Linked DNA regions of Homo sapiens: region 1 is linked to region 2. The links are contacts of gene promoters, found by promoter capture Hi-C in blood cells and fetal thymus (Javierre and others, 2016). All regions are on one chromosome and are shown on one strand. Each heading gives the region's core, a stretch centred on a gene start or on the middle of the fragment in contact. The rest is flanking DNA. Distances are from core to core; before and after follow the strand shown. Region 1 holds the start of BIVM-ERCC5 (BIVM-ERCC5 readthrough). Region 2 holds the start of METTL21C (methyltransferase 21C, AARS1 lysine).

What was found. The method cuts DNA at HindIII sites, captures the fragments that hold promoters and counts their contacts. A CHiCAGO score of 5 or more calls a contact.
Region 1: a fragment that was not itself captured here is called in contact with the fragment with the promoter of METTL21C in region 2 in 9 of 17 cell types (naive CD8 T cells, total CD8 T cells, non-activated CD4 T cells and 6 more); the score reaches 7.9 in naive CD8 T cells.

What each region holds. Positions count from the first base shown.
Region 1 is chr13:102,803,582-102,810,344 of GRCh38, forward strand. BIVM (basic, immunoglobulin-like variable motif containing) reads left to right here. Exons shown (of 11, transcript NM_017693.4): 2 at 1,726-1,809; 3 at 3,565-4,164. The coding sequence starts at 3,687. BIVM-ERCC5 (BIVM-ERCC5 readthrough) reads left to right here and starts at 3,565. Exons shown (of 23, transcript NM_001204425.2): 1 at 3,565-4,164. The coding sequence starts at 3,687. The HindIII fragment of the contact is 1,157 bases long and covers 4,375-5,531 here.
Region 2 is chr13:102,693,566-102,699,861 of GRCh38, forward strand. It overlaps METTL21C (methyltransferase 21C, AARS1 lysine), which reads right to left and starts at 1,479. Exons shown (of 4, transcript NM_001010977.3): 1 at 804-1,479. The coding sequence starts at 933. The HindIII fragment of the contact is 1,740 bases long and covers 675-2,414 here.

The DNA.
Region 1 (6,763 bases), core at 3,703-6,202, 110 kb after region 2:
AGCCCTGGGAAAGTGGAAGCCAAGTCTGAGATGAGGATATAAAAGGGGCAGGGCCTGGAACATTTCCGTCTCGCCACCAAACTCACTCTAATAACCTTTGTCTATTGCCTCTCACCGAGACTATATGCTCTTTCATTCCTCACCTCGCACAGCCCACCCCCACGACCCCAATACCACAAATACCTACCTCTCTGTCCACCACACTGATGTAGAGAAAGGCATGAAGGTCACAGATGAGAAGTAGAAAATGCTATGTTAGGACATCTGCTGAGAATCAGAGCAACTCTGTCTTCCAAAAAGACAAGAGTTTGGTCTGAACAACGCCAGGTACTGAGCTTCCCTCTGCCATCACCGTTGCACCACCAGATGAATAAGGAGAGAGCACCACTTCCACTTGAGGACCCACTACAACTACTCCAAGAATTTTTTTTACCAAAAGAAAGTGAAAGTTTTCAAAGTGAAACCACAGGAGGTTCCACCTTTCGTGGTAATATTCCTATCCAACTGACCCTCTTGCAAACAACTATAAACTCTGCACAAATTATTTTAAAACTGAAGAGTTTTTTGTTTGTTTGTTCGTTTCGAGACAAGATGGAGTGCAGGTCACCCAGGCTGGAGTGCAGTGGCGCGATCTTGGCTCAACGCAACCTCCACCTTCGAGCCTCAAGCAATTCTGCCTCAGCCTCCCGAGTAGCTGGGATTACAGGCATGCGTCACTACCGCCTGGCTAATTTTTATCTTTTTTTTGAGATGGAGTTTCACTCTGTCACCCAGGCTGGAGTGCAATGGCAGGATCTCAGCTCACTGCAACCTCCACCTCCTGGGTTCAGGCCGTTCTCCTGCCTCAGCCTCGCAAGTAGCTGTGATTACAGGTGCGCGCCATCATGCCCAGCTAATTTTTTTGTGTTTTTTAGTAGAGACAGGGTTTCACCCTGTGTGCCAGGCTGGTCTCGAACTCTGACCTCATGATCCACCCGCCTCGGCCTCCTACAGTGCTGGGATTACAGGTGTGAGCCACTGCACCCGGCCCTTACTGTCTGGCTAATTTTTAAATTTTCAGTCGAGATGGGGTTTCACCATATTGGCCAGGCTAGTCTTGAACTCCTGACCTCAAATGATCCACCCGCCTCAGCCTCCCAAAGTGCTGGGATTACAGGCATGAGCCACCACACCAGGCCTAAAAACTGAAGGTTTGAATAGAGAAAAAGCATGCTTTAAAAGTAAAGAAAATGGAATTTTGCCTAGCATATGTGGAGTCCTAATATGCAGCTCTGTTTCCTTAAATTCCATGAAAGCCATGCAGTACCTTTGCTAGTTTCTCCTCACAGATCAGGATAACCTAGGGGGCTCTTGTGTGAATCGTCTTCTATTTCTTGCAGCCTAACTCATAGGCTTTCGTTGTTCAATATTTGTATGATGGTTTTGATACTATTTTTGGTAACCCATGACAGTTATTTTTATTTCTAATTTTTTAAGTAAGCAAATGGGCAGAGATATTAACTGGTAAAAGTCCAACTGATCACCCAGGGTGGACTGAATCTCTCAACTGATGCTCTGTTGCTGGAGCCCTGAGAAACCCGCATACCCTGCCCGGGCACCTGCCTGGGGTTGTCTGCTGCGTGTCCTGGGATGGTTCAATTCACCAAGGACTTCCTCTGGTATAAATCTTCAGCTTCCTTGCATGCCCTCAGTTGCTATTTAAGCTTTCTGTTTTCTTCCCTAAAGGAATCAGTTTAGACTTGAAATTCAGTTTTTCCTGAAACTGATCAGAAGTTAGTGACACCTTGATTGGATCCGTTTTTCTGTCAGGTGATGAATCTTTGGAAAATTTACTTTCTGTATTCTGTGTTTATTTAAATCTGTGGCCGTTATTCATCATGTATCCTTTATGCCTATGTACGTAAAAAATCTTGCTAATACATTATTTTTTAGACAACTTTATGGAGGTATAATTCACACACCATATAATTTACCCATTAAGTTATGCAATTCATTGGCTTTTAGGGTATTTACAAGTTGTGTGTTCATTGCCACAATCATTTATAGAATATTATCATTATTACAAAAAGAAACTCCATCACCCCCAAACCCCAAGCCCTAGGAAACCATGAATCTACTTTCTGTCTGCATAGATTTGCCTGTTCTGGACATGTTATATAAATAGAATAATACACTATCTGGTCCTTTGTGACGATCTTCTTTTACTCACTATAATGTTTTCGGGGTTCATCCATGTTGTAGCATGGGTCAGTACTTCATTTCTTTTTATTGCCAAATAATATTCCATTGTATGGATATACCACATTTTATTTATACATTCCTCAGTTGGTGGACATTTGGGTTGTTTCCATTTTTTGGCCATTATGAATAATGCTGCTATTAACATTTGTGTGAAGATGTATTTTCATCTGTCACGGATATATACCTTGGCATGAAATTGCTGGACCATATGGTAACTCTGTTTAATTGTTGGAAGAACTGTTTTCCAAAGCAACTGGACCATTTTACATTTCCATTAGCAATGTATGAGGGTTATGATTTCTCCACGTCCTCACCAACATTTTTGATTATAGCCATTCTAGCGTGTGTGAGGTGTTAATCTCATTGTGGTTTTGATTTGTATTTCCATGATGGCTAATGATACTGAGCATCTTTTCATGTGCTTATTGGCCATTTATTTTTATTTTTGATACAGTCTCGCTCTGTTGCCCAGGCTAGAGTGTAGTGGCGCGATCTCGGCTCACTGCAACCTCTACCTCCCAGGTTCAAGTGAGTCTTATGTCTCAGCCTCCTGAGTAGCTGGGACTACAGGCATGTGCCACCATGCCTGGCTAATTTTTGTATTTTTAGAAGGGACGGGGTTTCACCATGTTGGCCAGGCTGGTCTCGAACTCCTGACCCCAAGTGATCCACCTGCCTTGGCCTCCCAAAGTGCTGGATTACAGGTGTGAGTGACTGCGCCTGGCCTTATTGGCAATTTCTGTACTGATTTTGGAGAAGACACTATTCAGATACTTTGCCCATTTTTAAAAATTGGGCTATTTGCTGGCCGGGCATGGTGGCTCACATCTGTAATTCCAGCACTTTGGGAGGCAGAGGTGGGCAGATCACTTGAGGTCGGGATTTTGAGACCAGCCTGACCAAGATGGAGAAACCCCATCTCTACTAAAAATACAAAATTAGCCGGGCGTGGTGGCGCATGCCTGTAATCCCAGCTACTTGGGAGGCTGAGGCAGGAGAATCACTTGAACCCGGGAGGCGGAGGTTGCGGTGAGCCGAGATTGTGCCATTGCACTCCAGCCTGGGCAACAAGAGTGAAACTCCATCTCAAAAAAAAAAAAATTGGGCTATTTGCTTTTTAATTATTTTTTAATTATTTGAAAATAATTTAATGCATATTTTAGACTAATTTAAAAAATAAGATAGTGATTGTGACTCCAGTCATATAGTAGTTGTAAAATTAATATAGAATGAAGGCATATGTATGCATAAAACTTGCTATGCTTTTTAGTGGCTCTTTGTGTATCTGGTGGATTGTTGATCATTCTTTTTCCTTCCTCTTAGGAGCTCATTTTGCAGCTCTCAAGCTTTTATAGCATGCTGTAAACAATTGTCAAAGTTGTTTATCAAGAAACAGATAGAGTTGCAACTTGTTTCTAGTAATAGAAACTTTTACACTGCATTCAATGCCTAACGTTGCAGAAACAGAAAGGTCAAATGATTCTGGAAATGGTGAGCACAAATCTGAGAGAAAGTCACCTGAAGAGAATCTACAAGGTGCTGTAAAATCTTTCTGCACAAGTGCCTCAGGAGCACCCTTGGGTCCCAAAGGAGATGGTCATTATCCATGGAGTTGTCCAGTGACTCATACACGGGAAAAAATTTATGCCATCTGTTCGGACTATGCCTTTCTCAACCAGGCGACCTCAATCTATAAAACTCCAAATCCATCCCGCTCTCCTTGCCTCCCTGATAGTACCTCTTTATCTGCTGGAAATAATTCATCAAGATACATTGGTATCCCGACTAGTACATCGGAAATTATCTACAATGAAGAAAATAGCTTGGAAAACTTATCCAACAGCCTGGGCAAGCTACCTCTCGCATGGGAAATTGATAAATCTGAATTTGATGGGGTGACCACAAATTCGAAACACAAATCAGGTAAGGAGGGAGCCATGAAGTTCATATGTGAAAATAATGAGAAAACAAACACTATGTCTTGTTTAATCTTGCCATTACACATAGTTTCCTTGTATAATACTAGATAAGGAACATGGCTATCATCTTGTCTGTCAATGTAGTTTTAGGAAAGTAACCTTGACGTAGGGCATGTAGTTCATTGCGGGGCTTCCACTGGAAACTTCAAGCATAAGCTTTGTATCAAATATTTTGAGAGATTTGAAAATCTAATAATGTAAAATATTATAAACAGATGGTAGCTTAGAAAATGAAATGTTAATAACATGGCTAGAATAACTTACTACTGTTTCATAGTTTTATAGGCACATGAAGTTGTATTTCCTGACCAAACATCTTTTTTTCCTGCTATATAATGTTTTAGCTTTTTTTGTTGTTAAAATTTTTTAGGCACCCAGCAAAGCCTCCATGTACCACCAAGTGGGTTGTGTACTGCTCAATTTAAGAGGATGCTGTTTACCGAGGTTGTGCATAACTTTCACAGTTGCAATGGGGTGGTCCTATGGCAGATAGAAATACTTTACACTTCTTTCTTTTGAATTCAAAGTAATACAGGAATTTTATGAGGCAGGTACTGTTAGCCCCATTTGTAGGTGAAGAAATTGAGGCTTAGAAGGGATAAATCTCTAGACCGAAGTTGCAGAGTTAATAAGAGGAGGTCAAACTAGGATTTGTATTTACTTCTAGTCTTCTCTGATGATTTTATAAAACCTTAATGCTTCTGCTTGTTTATCTGCAAAATCAATTTGTTTCATAGAATTTTAGGTAAATTTGTAATTCTTAAGGGTAGGAGGGGGATTTTGCTTTTTTTGTCTAAATTTGTAGGTAATGAGTCTGCAATTTTCTTTTTGTCTAATGCCTTTGGCCAGTTTTGGAATTAGGGCTATGCAAATCTTCTAAGAAAAGTTGGGAAGTGTTTTTTCCTCCTGTTTTCTGAGGATTTTCAGAGAGATATTAAAATCTGTATTTATAATTATGGAGTTGTCTTGATTTCTGTTAATTTCTGACAAATTTTAATTTGTCCATGTCATTTAAGTTGTCAAATTTGGGGGCTTAAAGTTAATGTTATCCCTCTAACATCTAAGGAATCTTTGTTGACAACTCCTTTTGCATCCTAATACTGGTAATTAATTTATTTTCTCTATTTTTTTTAAAACTGATCAATCTAGCTAGGAGTTTATCAATTTTGTTAATCTTTTCAAATAACTAGCTTTTGTTAATTTTCTCAATTGTTTGTTTTCTATTTCATTGGTTTCTGCTCTTTATTATTTGCTTCCTCTGACTTACTTTGGGTTTATTTTGTTCTTCATTTTCTGACTTCTTAAGATGGAAGCTTAGATCATTGATTTTAGACTTTTCTACCATAAGCATAGAATACTCCAAATTGCTAAGTACTGCTTTAGCTGCAGCTCACAAATTTTGATATGCTTATTATTATTACTTAATTGGAAATATTTTCTAATTTCCTTTGCAATTTATTCTTTGATACATGTATTACTTAGATGTATGCTGTTTAATTTCTAGATATTAATAGTTTTTCTAAATATTGATTTCTAGTTTAGTTCCATTGTGGACAGAGGGCATATGCTCTCAGTCTTTTTAAATTTACTGAGACTTGTTTTATGACCCAACATATGGTCTATCTTGGTGAATGTGCCATGTGCACTTGAAAAGAATGTGCATTCTGCAGTCATTGGGAGTATCTATAAATATTAATTATGTCGAAGTGTTTGAAAGTGTCATTCACATCTTTTGTGTCTCCGCTTAACTTGTGTCTTGTTCTATCAATTACCAAAAGAAGGGTGTTAAAAATCTTCAACTATGATTGTGAAGTTGTCTTTTCTCCATTTAATTTCTTTTTTAAAAACTAATACATGTCTAATAACAGAAAATTTACTGTCTTAACCATTTTTACGTGTACAGTTTAGTGGCATTAAGTACATTTACGTTGTTGTGCAACCATCATCACTATTCATCTCCAAATCTCTTTCCTTTTCTTTTCTTTCTTTTTTTTTTTTTTCTGAGACAGAGTCTCGCTCTGTCGCCCAGGCTGGAGTGCAGTGGCGCGATCTCGGCTCACTGCAAGCTCCGCCTCCCGGGTTCACACCATTCTCCTGCCTCAGCCTCCCGAGTACCTGGGACTACAGGCGCCTGTCACCGTGCCCGGCTACTTTTTTGTATTTTTAGTAGGGTCGGGGTTTCACCGTGGTCTCGACCTCCTGACCTCGTGATCCGCCCGCCTCGGCCTCCCAAAGTGCTGGGATTACAGGCGTGAGCCACCCCGCCCAGCCCTTCTTTTCATCTTACAAAATAAACTTTGTACCCATTAAACAATAAATCCTCATTCCTTCTCCTCACAGTCCCTGGAAACCACAATTTTACTTTTTGTCACTGTGAATTTGACTATTCTAGGTACCTTATGTAAGTGAAATCATATAGTATTTGTCTTTTTATGACTGGTTTATTTATAGCCACCCCTGCTCTCTTCTGGGTGCTATTTGCTTTGGAATACTTATTTCCATCCTTTTACTTTCAGCCTATTTGTATCTCTAGATCTAAAGTG
Region 2 (6,296 bases), core at 229-2,728:
GTAAATAAACTGACAAATATTAAGCTTGACAGCTGCACTTTTCCAATCAACATTGTAAGGAAACATAGACATACACGTATTCTCTCATAAGACCCTGTGAGGTTCTACAACGATAAAGAAACATATGTTTTTGTGCCTGAAATATTTTCATTTATTCTCTGTGCTATTCTGATAGTTTTAGAGAGATCAGATTTTCAGATAAGGTAGAGTTGCATTTTTACGTAAACAATGCAGTAAAAATAGACAACATTCTCATTTATTGGAGTTGGGATACATTTTTTACCACCTTTAATTATGAACACTGTAAATGCTGCATCTTGGCTTTTATTAGATCATTTGTTATGTCTATTATTTATTTACAACTGAATCCATGCCCAGAAATGTAACCCTAAACTGTTACATTGTCCTAACGGGGAAATACAGTTTGATTTATAAAGATTCACTGTATGACAAAGCTACCAAGAATGTATTTTGGTGAAAAGCAGAAATGAACCTAGATTTTTTGTTCTTCTTTTAAGTTCTTGTTACAAAAATACAGCAAGCTTAGATCTATACATAGAAAAAAAACAAATGTGCAAACTTTGATAAGTAATGAAAAACCAGGAATTACTTTTAATAAGTAAATAATGAAAAAACAGGAATTATGTTTATACTTGCAAAACATTTTTCTGCTAAGCTTCATTATAGCAAAAAATCTAATGTTAAAAGGAAATGGAAATTCTTGTCACTGAAATTTACTTGAAGATGTCATCGCCAGGAAAACAACTGAGGAAAACTGTTGAAGTGATGAAGAAGGAGGTTACCTTCTAGGACTCCCCCGGTGCTGTCTTTCTGCGGAGCCCCCTTCTTCTCAGCCTCTAACCAGCCACCCGGGGAGCTGAGTCCTTCCCCCCGGCGCCCAGGCTGCTGCGCGGAGCTCAGACACACGTCCATAGCCGGCTGTCCCAAAGACAGCTGTGCATTGAAAAGCAATCTACAAAAGAACGACTATAATCTACTGACTGACTGTTACTAGTTCAGCACATCTATGATCTACATCGCATGTTCGTAATTAATACAGAATTGGAAATGACTCCTTGTTAGTATGCCCAAAATAATTTTGAATTGTTACACGTATCTTTACCTTATGCAGCAGAAGAGATGTGAGGCTTCTGTGCACTCTTTAATCCCCAGTGTTTTATATAGGTCTACACCTGAAAGGATTAGCATTTGATGAACAAAATCCAGCCAGTGGAAGCCCAAGTTATTTAGGGTAGCATTATCTACCAGTCCTCATAGACACATTACTTTGCTAGAATTCTCTCTCTTTCTCTCTCTCTCTCTCTCTCTCTCTCTCACACACACACACACACACACACACACACGCACAGTCCTAGCAACATTCAATGGAATTCCCTTCAAAAGTTTCAGGAATATCACTGGAACAGAACAGAGGCTGCCCCTGTGGCATCCAGTTGCTGCGATGTGGTTCGAAACGTTAGACTTCCAGTTCACTTTTCAAAGAAGTGGGTGTTGGACAGTTGCACAGACTTGCAAATTTTGTGCTCATTTGCCAAACTCCAGTAGCCACAGGGAGGACATGCCCACCCAGCCTCTGCCTAGGACCCGTATCCAGGCAGCCAGAAAGAACACAAGGATCTACCAAGAGGAAGGGAATGCTTTGGGGAGGAAGAAAGGAGAGCATCTATCCATGAGAAGGGACGGGAGTCAAAGGCTTAACGTTGAATCTGGGGGATTTAGAGCAGAGGGAAGAGGAAATCAGAAAAACTCTTCCAAGAAAAAGTAAGCCATTGTGATTTATTTAACTGAAATAAGGGATAGTCAAAAGGGAAGGAGAAAAATCATGTGCTCATTTGTGAAGCTCAGAAACCCTTAAAATAGAATATAGGTCACACAAAGTAAAGCCTCAGACAAATGGGAATTAAAGAATCACTTGTGATAGGCTACATTCAACCAGGGAGTTGGATGAATGGTGTTTTAACCTGAGTAGATATAAAAGCCCATTTTTGTTTTTGTACCCACCCTCGGTACTCGTTTCTCTGGTGTCACTATTTTGTGTTCTTTATGTCAGTTTCTTTTCACTCAGGATGTTCATCTAGATGTGCTGTGGTCCCATGTAAATCACCTTTCCCACTTTCTTAAATGACTGGGGATAAGCCGGCATTTGTTCCAGCTCTATCGTTCTAATGCTTTCTTATTCCCCAAATGCATCTAGTTCTATGATTGCATTCTGCATCTCTGCAACTTATTTCTTCCAGGTGTCATCAGTCCCTATGAGAAATAGCAAAAAGATAGTCATCAGTACAATTCTACAAAAACCTTTTAAAAACTGATTGCAATGTACGTGAATATATGTGTGTATATTTATATGCATGTAGACACACACATAGACAAACATATGCGTTCATTCTACAAGCTTTAAAATGAAGCAAAGGACGAAGGAAAAAATGTTGATCTCCTTTAATTCTACTATCTAGAGAAAGAAACCTCACCAACTTTTTTTTTTGTATCAACTTCTAGGCTTATTTTTTTTGTATAAACTTTTTTAAAGCTATTTTACTGAAAATGTGACTTGATAGAAACATGTACCTCTTTAACCTAGCATCCTATTAAGAGTTCCTTTTTAGGATGAGTTCATGTCCTTTGCAGGGACATGGATGAAGCTGGAAACCATCATTCTCAGCAAACTAACACAGGAACAGAAAACCAAACACCACATGTTCTCACTCATAAGTGGGAGTCGAACAATGAGAACACATGGACACAGGGAGGGGAACATCACACACCTGGGCCTGTCAGGGGGTGGGGGACTTAGGGGACGGAGAGCATTAGGAGAAATACCTAATGTAGATGATGGGTTGATGGGTGCAACAAACCACCATGGCACGTGTATACCTATGTAACAAACCTGCACATTCTGCATGTGTACCCCAGAAATTAAAGTATAATAAAAATAAATAAATAAATAATTTAAAAAACAGTTCCTTTTTAATACTTTCTTCAAAGCCATCTTTTAGATAGCTGCTTTAAGATATACATCAGAGCTCTATTGCCTGGAGCTAGACCACGGTAGATCAAAGGCTCTTAAATGCTGGACTTACCTGTAGGCAGAGGCTATGTCCAAATCACCCGGAAGCTTTAACATGCGTCAACTCCAGGCTCTGGCAATTCTTGTTTGCAGGTGTGAGAAGGAACCAAGAAGTCTGAATTCCCTGTCTGAGAATTGTTCTCTGACATATGGTAGCTCCTGGCACATAGTAGGTGTTGTAATTGCTGAATTTGTTATTGAGCGAAACTCTGAGTGCCCAAGCAGCCACGGGAAGACTCCAAAGGTTCAGGAAGGGATTGACGGGGGGCAGGGCAGGGAGGGAACAGGGCAGGGACACACAAGTTGTTTTCAAATAGTTGAAGTGCAGCCGGTGAAAAGGATTAGTCCTCCTGCATGGCTTCGGAGGGCACGCTGATGAAGTCAGTTACTGGGAAGCAGATTTGGGCTCAACAGGAAAGAACTTTCTAACAAGTAGAACAATGGAACAATTGATCCCAAGAAGCCTACATAATGGAAAGTGGGCCAGATTTGGAGTCAGAAGATACAAGATTGGATCAAAGGCTCAATAAGGAGGCTATTCATGTGCTGTCACTCGCCTCTCTCTGTCAGGATGGGCACTGCCTTTTTTCCTATGAAATCTGGCTCTCTTGGGCTGTGGTTCTCAAGGGGGAGTCCTCCCCTCTTGCCAAGGGGACATTCAGCAATTTGGGGGAGACATTATTAGTTATCGCAATAGGGGGTGGGATGCTCCTGGCATCTAGTGCACGGAGGATGCTGCAAAACCTCCTACAATGCACAGGACAGCCCCGCACAGCAAAGAATTACCCAGCTCAGAATGTCCACAGTGCAAAGGTCAAGCCACCCTGGGCCAGGCAAAGGATCAGCATTGCCATGAAGGGTAAACCACAATTACCAGCCTAGGTGTCTACTGACTGAGTGATGTCAGGTGAGTTGTTCCCGCCTCCCCTGTGTCTCAGTGTTCTCGTCTATACGGTGGAGGTGGATTTGCATTGATAGAGGGATTAACACAGGACCAACCCTGAGCTGCATCTTCCAAGCATCCCAGAAGCCCCCATCTTACTTAGTCTGGTTTCTCGATGAAGCAGACTCCAAGGCAGGGATTTGAGTGAAAGTATTTTATTTGGGGAGTGTGAATAACACAGCAAGGAAAGTGGACGCAACCCAGGGAAAGGGTGACATCCTGCCACGTGTGTGCCACAAGACCAGCAACAGGAGCAGGCGACCAGAGCTTAACCCCATGGGGAGACACTGGGAAAGGAGGCAAAACACACACTTCAGAATTATTCCACTCCAGCTGCAGAGAGCTCCGGTGGTATTTTTCCAGCAGGACCTCAGCTACACATGCAGAGCAGCAGCCAGGGCACTCCAACACATCTGACACACATGAGCGAGGCCAGGACAGTATCTGCTACAGCTTCATAAGATGCCGTTGCTCCTTTCCAGAATCAACAGGAGCAAGTGAAATTTTATATATCTGAAAGAATCTGGCACAGTGCCAGGTGCTCAGAGGGTCCTCGATAAATAAATGTCTCATATTATCTTGTATGTTGTTCAAACAGAGGGTTGAGTCCACAGGGTTCTTTGGAAGGGTTCTGGATCACTCACCTAATCATATGGAAAAGCTGAGCATCTGAAACCATCCCAATAAACTTTATTCATCAGGGAAGAAGGGAGGGAGAGAAATGAGACTAAAATGAGCTTGCAGCACACGCAGCATGGATCATGAGGTCGGCCTGTTCTCTGACGCACTTCCTTGTTGTTGTTTGTCTGTTGTCTTAGAATCAGATAGACCCTGTTACAAGATTATAGATCCCCTTATCTGCTCTAGAGATAACAACTAGAACCTTATGAAATGTTGTTTTCCTTTGAGATATTCTTTCACGTCCTACATGCCACTAAAACCACCCACATCAGCAGGTCTGAAGGACCCCCCAAGAAGCTGACTCACCAAAGCACACAGGCTCCACATCCTGATAATTTCATCCTCCTCACCCTGACCAATCAATGACCCCAATTTTCCAGCCCCTCATCCTCCAAGATCCCCTTTAAAACCCCAACTCAGAACTCTCGGGGAGATGGATTTGAGGGTCTTCTCCCATCTCCTCACTAGGAGCCCTGCAATCATTAAACTCTTTCTCTGCTGCCTCCTGGCTGTCTCAGTGCATTGGCCTGTTACTACACAGTGGGCATATGAACCTGTTGGTCCTATAACACATCGGCCTTGAGATATAAAGGGTCCAGGGCTGCTCTGGTTCCAGAGATATCAGCAGCAGGAGTTCATGGACCTTCTGTTTAAACATTGCCATTGAAGGTCACAACTGCAGTCACCATCCATCACTGTGTATCTATGGTCAAGATTCAATGTCTAGGGAAAAAGATTCCGAGTGCTCTTAGTCTTAAGTTCACCCCTATAGTCAGGGCTGGGTTGTGGGAAGCCTTGCACCAAACCACGAAGAGCAGGCTGGCAACTCAAAGAAGGGATGCAGGGCCATAACCCATAAAAAGCAAGGGTTATAATAGCCCTCCTACCCTTCTTCTCACCCAGTGCATACATACTTCCTTATTTGCATAAATACAACTTCACAGTGGAGACCCACCCTTTCTACAGTGGAAAATAACCTGAAGTCTCCTCCAGCTATTGCAACTAAAGGCAATGGAGTTGCACTTCCCAAGTCCAAACCTCTAGATGATGTCCATTTCTTCCCTGGCTCCGTTGCTTCTTCCATAACAGGCACATGATCCCAGGGGACCACTGACAATAACTTGATTGGCTGTTTCACCACAGCTCGCCCTGGGCTGCTATTCCTGTTCCCATCCCAGAATATGAATAGGAGACTCATTGATTTCCACATTGATCTTTCCTAAAAGGTCCACAAAGGATGAGATACTGATCAGGCAAATGCAAGACATACCCACCATGCCTACTTATAAGGGAGACTCAGTGGGAATTCCCTCCCAGAGAAGTGAGGGTTTCATTGGAGACACAGACCTTCTTCAAGAACCCTGGAACCACCGACATTCAATGTGTGTGATTTCCAGTGAGTAATGGAGAAAAGGTCAAAGTGAAATCATGCAATTTCATAACTTCTGGTCCCTCAATTAGCTGGTAACACAGTGGCCCAAATGTCAGAATCCTGTCTGTCAAATGGTCCAGGGCTGCTGCAATACCCCCCCGACCCAGCCCTGCACTGGCCAGACTTCTGGGGGAGTCCCCTGAGAGCAGCCG